Linked DNA regions of Homo sapiens: region 1 is linked to region 2. The links are contacts of gene promoters, found by promoter capture Hi-C in human tissues and cell types (Jung and others, 2019). All regions are on one chromosome and are shown on one strand. Each heading gives the region's core, a stretch centred on a gene start or on the middle of the fragment in contact. The rest is flanking DNA. Distances are from core to core; before and after follow the strand shown.

The links. The method cuts DNA at HindIII sites, captures the fragments that hold promoters and counts their contacts. A contact is called where the count stands out against the background at its distance.
Region 1: a contact is called between a fragment that was not itself captured here and the fragment with the promoter of OBP2B in region 2, in 3 of the 25 tissues and cell types used here (H1 embryonic stem cells, mesendoderm cells and stomach).

Annotation. Positions count from the first base shown.
Region 1 is chr9:133,281,516-133,284,215 of GRCh38, forward strand. No RefSeq gene overlaps it. Among named protein-coding and RNA genes, the nearest start is that of SURF6, 53 kb to the right of the region's middle. The HindIII fragment of the contact is 8,824 bases long and covers 1-2,700 here.
Region 2 is chr9:133,207,791-133,210,531 of GRCh38, forward strand. OBP2B (odorant binding protein 2B) reads right to left here and starts at 1,460. Exons shown (of 7, transcript NM_014581.4): 1 at 1,338-1,460; 2 at 679-812; 3 at 343-413. The coding sequence starts at 1,409. The HindIII fragment of the contact is 7,424 bases long and covers 1-2,741 here.

The DNA of each region.
Region 1 (2,700 bases), core at 60-2,559, 74 kb after region 2:
TAGACAGCATTTCCCTTCCATCTGGTATTACCCACTTTCCCTCTGGGCTCTCGTTAGCTCCTATGTTCTTTAGTTTCTCTTGGTCTGCACGGGAGAAGGTGGGGATCACAGCTGGAGGGGGAAGACAAGGGGTGAGATGGAAAATGGGTGCCTCTTGGGAAGAGACAGCTTGTTTAGCTATCTGATCTGCGAAGTTGTTTCCCCAGCTTTCAAAAGATGGGTGTTTGGGGGCCTAGGACATGGACAATTGCAATTTCTTCTGGCAGCTGAAGATTTTCATTCATTCATTTATTGAGACGAAGTCTCACTCTGTTGCCCAGGCTGGAGTGCAGTGGCACGATCTCGGCTCACTGCAACCTCCGCCTCCCAGGTTCAAGCAATTCTCCAGCCTCAGCCTCCCAAGTAGATGGGATTACAGGCGCCCAACACAACACCCGGCTAATTTTTGTATTTTTGTAGAGATGGGGTTTCACCATGTTGGCCAGGCTGGTCTTGAACTCCGGACCTCAGGTGATCTGCCCGCCTCGGCCTCCCAAAGTGCTGGGATTACAGGTGCAAGCCACCATGCCCGGCTCAGCAGCTGAAGATTTTCTAGTGCTTGCATAATTAATTCCTTGTGGACCAGATCTTGGCCCTTACTATTTACGAGGTCTTGTTGAGTCCAGATTTTTCAAAGGTAAGGACTACTCCAAAGGCATACTTGGAGTCGGTGTAAATAGTTCCTTCCTGATTCTGCAGGGATTTTAAGGCTTGGTTTAATGCAAAGAGTTCGCATGTTTGGGCAGACCAGGCATTTGGCAGTCTTCCTGACTCTACCTCTGTGAGGTCTCCCCAACAACTAAGGAGTACCCGTTGTGCCTTTTTCCTTCAATGACCCGGGAGGAGCTGTCTATAAATTGGTGACCCCCTGTTTGGAAGGCGGTTTCGTTTAGATCCAGTCTGACTCTAGTTTGATAACTGATTAGACCCAAGCAGAGATAGAGTCATCAAGGTTCTTGGTGTGTTGAACAAAGAACTGAACAAAATGCACAAAGTAAGAAAGAACAAAGAAAGAACAAACGAAAGACAAAGCAACAAAAGACCCGGAAAGCACAGCTTTATTGAAAACAATTCACAGGGTGGGAGTGGCTGGAGCAAACGGCTCAAGAGCTTCCTCAATTAGGGTTTTTATTAAGCTAAAGGAACCTGGCAACACCCCTTGCTGCCCTTTAGAGGCCTCCGATTGGCTGCCATCTGTCAGCTGCTATCTGTCACCAAAATGTGTCTTATTTTAGCAAGAAGTGGAGCATAATCTATTTAACCAATTGCCTCCTGCTGGACTTTGAGAATATTTTTCTATTTTTTAAAAAAATTGTTTTTGTTTTGTTTTGCTTTTTTTGAGACAGGGTCTGGTCTATTGCCCAGTCTGCACTGCAGTGGTGCAATCATAGCTCGCTGCAGCCTCCAACTCCTGGGCTCAAGCAATTCTCCTACCTCAGCCTTCCAAGTTGCTGGGATTACAAGGCACATGCCACCATGCCTGACTAATTTTTCTGATTTTTAGTAGAGACAGGGGGGTCTCACTATGTTGTCCAGGCTGGTCTTGAACTCCTGGCCTTAAGTGATCTTCCCACCTCACGCCTGTCAGCCATCGTGCTCAGTTGTTAGAGGTTTTATAAAAATGAAAAATGTCACATACTGTTTTTCCAGAAACTTCATTGGCACTAGTAAGGTTCTAGGGAGTTGGCAAACACTGATTGGTGAATGACTGCAGTGGGTAAAGCTTAGATGAGTGATGGTGGCAGATGAAGCTGTGACTAGTGAGTGATGGTGGCGGGTGAAGCTCTGATTGGTGAGTGATGGTGGTGAGCAAAGCTCTACCAGATGAGTGATGGCGGCGGGTTGTGGGGGAAAGAAAGAGCGATCAGACGGTTACTGTGTCTATGTAGAAAGAAGTAGACATAAGAGACTCCATTTTGTTCTGTACTAAGAGATATTCTTCTGCCTTGAGATGCTGTTAATCTGTAACCCTAGCCCCAACCCTGTGCTCACAGAGACATGTGCTGTGTTGACTCAAGGTTTAATGGATTTAGGGCTGTGCAGGATGTGCTTTGTTAAAAAAGTGCTTGAAGGCAGCGTGCTTGGTAAAAGTCATCACCATTCTCTAATCTCGAGTACCCAGAGACACAATACATTGCAGAAGGCCAGGCCGCAGGGACCTCTGCCTAGGAAAGCCAGGTATTGTCCAAGGTTTCTCCCCATGTGACAGCCTGAGATACGGCCTCGAGGGAAGGGAAAGACCTGATCGTCCCCCAGCCCGACACCCATAAAGGGTCTGTGCTGAGGAGGATTAGTAAAAGAGGAAGGCCTCTTTGCAGTTGAGATAAGAGGAAGGCATCTGTCTCCTGCTCGTCCCTGGGAATGGAATGTCTTGGTGTAAAACCCGATCATACGCTCTAAATACTGAGATAGCAGAAAACCTCCCTATGGCTGGAGGTGAGACATGCTGGCGGCAATACTGCTCCTTAATGCACTCAGATGTTTGTGTAAAGTCAAGCATAAATCTGGCCTACGTGCACATCCAGGCACAGCACCTTTCCTTAAACCTATTTACGACACAGAGATCTTTGCTCATATGTTTTCCTGCTGACCCTCTCCCCACCATTACTCTATAGTCCTGCCACATCACCCTGTCCGAGATGGTAGAGATAGTGACCAATA
Region 2 (2,741 bases), core at 210-2,709:
CATCCTTAACCCTCAGCTTCCCCATCCCTAACCCTCAGCCTCCCCGTACCTAATCCTTGGCCTCCTTGTCCCAATCCTCAGCTTCCTCAATGTGTCAATGGCTAGGGCCTCCCAGAGGGCAGGCGTGATCTGGTCCATCTCGACTGCGGACAAGCCTGTCACACCCGGTGTCTGATGTCAGGGCCACCAGCCCCCCAGGAAGGAGAGGCCAGCCCCTCCTTGGAGGTGGGCAGAGCTGGGGCCCTGGCAAAAGGGCAGCCTGGGCACTCTCTACCTGTGGAGGCTGGTGCACTGGGGTTGGCGGTGGGGGAGGGTGGGGGTGGGAGTGGGGGAGGGGCTCACAGGCGCTGTATTTGCCAGGCTCCTCCGTCTTCCGCATCAGGATTTTCTTCTGGATGCACCTATCCTCCCTCCTGGAAAACAGGAGACACGCGGGCAGCGGCTCCCAGGACACCCATGGCCCATCCTCAGCTCACCTGGTGCATGGCCCTGACCCGGCAACCTGAAAATTCCACTGCCCCCCACCCCACCGAGCTTCAGGATGCCCAGGCTGTTTCCCTCCAAGGCAGGGGGTGACTCTTCCCAACACCCGAAACGTGGATGGGGCAATGGGCACCAGGTGGATCTGGGGAGGGGAGCGAAAGTGGCCTGAGGGGCCCTGCAGTGGGCAACACTCACATGAAGGTGAACGTGGCTTCCAACTTCCCACCGCCCAGGGCTGTCACCTTCACTGGGGACACCTTCCTGGGCCTCCTGTCCTCCGGAAAGTCCTTATCGACCACCATGGCCTTCACGTACCAGGTCCCTGTGATCTGGAGCAGGCCAAGGCCGTGAGCCCACCATGGGTGGCCCAGATTCTACTCTGACCCTGGCACTCAGGCCTGCAGCTATAACCAGACACCCATGGTGCCCGGCTGCTGCCCTTAAAGGCAGGCTGTGTTCCTGCACCTTAGTTAGAGCTCAGCTGGAGTGAGTTAGAGCCAGCCCCCTGCTCAGGGCTCCCAGCCCCCAGTGGAAGGAGGGCATGTCTGCACCCCATGGACCCCCGGGCCCCAGCACCAGGTGAGCCCTCCCTCCACAGGGCCCAACCCTGCGAGACCTTCGGGCTTCAGGCGTCAGTGCAGCAGGAACCCCTGAGACGAGCCTGCTCCGGCCCTGGGCCTCGGGGGGCCGTGTCTGCTGGAGGAACAATAGGACCCCTCCACCACCACCCCAGGCTGGGAGCACGGGGTCAGAAGCCAGCCTTCAGTGACACCTCCTAAAGCAGGGCCCCTGGCACTGCCCCCTGCCCAGGAGTCCGCCTGGCTCCTCCATCCGCCCACGCCAACCCAGCTCACATCCTCCTCCTCCAGGGTGAAGGACAGGGCAGCGGCCAGGCCGAGCGTGACACCCAGGAACAGGGTCTTCATCTCCAGAGCTCTGTGCTGCCGACCTCGGCAGGTCACTGGGCGTCTGAACAAGGCTGTGCTGGCTCCTCTCGAGATGTTCTTTATAGCCCCCTGGCCAGTGTCCTGGGAGCACGTGGCACGGTGCACCCCTCCCCATGGTGGCAACCAGTCCTGCATCCGGGAGGGGGAGTGTCCTCATTGCTGGCATCTGGTGAACAGCAAGTCAGTGCCAGCCAGAGAAGAAAAGACACACGATGCCATCCAGAGTTTGCACCACCCGAACGCGCCCACTCAGATGAGCCCAGAGGACTCGAGAGGACAGGGCAGGGTGGTGTCCATCTGCACCCCAAGCCACAGAGGCAGGGCCCACAGCCTCGGGATACTCCCTCACCAACCCCTGCACCCTCCCAGGGCCACGGCTGGGACCCTGGGCAAGTCCTCTGGGGAACTGGCCATCTCCCTGCTGAGCAGAAATGGACTGGGCTTTAGAACCAGAGAGACGTGGGGCTGCTGCCAGCTGAGTCCCGCACGCCCTAGAGCCCAAGCTTCCGCCCACTCTGGGACCCACTCTGCATTGATTTTCCCCACCTGGACCCTGCACTCGAGCTTCCTAGGGGCAGAGGAGGGCACTATTGTGTGGCTCAGGGTCAGTTTATATACGGCCTCCTCGGGCCATATGAGGGACCCCGCCGCCTCCCCGACCCCGCTTCACTCCGTACCGGAGCCTGGCTGTGCTGTCCTCAGAACACGCGATCTCTCTGGATTGTCCTGTCCATTTCTTCCTGCACGTATTCATCGACCATCTCCCTGTTAGAATATACATTCCCCTCTCTCGTCAGCTTTGACGGCCCCCAGCCCCCAGGACAGGCCTTGAATCTCATCCCTTTAGATAAACAAGTCGCATGAGGCACCAAGAGTCACCTGCCAGCCTGTGCTCAGAGTTCGTGGCTGAGGTCCCTTGGGCACCTGGCTCTGCTGGCCTCATCCCCAGCCAACCTGAGCCAGAACTTTGCCTTCTCCCTCCCGGACCCTGCATTTCCCAGGTGTGTGTCATCTTCCCTGGGACCCAAGGCTGACCCACGCTCTGCAGGCAGGTGCTGGACCCACACAATGGCATCTTTGTGCCTCTCTGGCCCAAGATCAGACACTCTCAAGTACTTACTCAATAATACTAATGCACACTCTAATAAACCCTGGGGCTGTAACGAACGGGCTGGTGTGACCCAGTCCCTCACCCCTCCCACGGCAAGTGCTGCCGAGCAGAAACCCCCCACCCTCATCCCCCCGGGCAGGAAAGAATGGGGCCTGGGCTCTTCAGGACCAGAGATGAGCAAACAGGCTGGAGTCTCTACA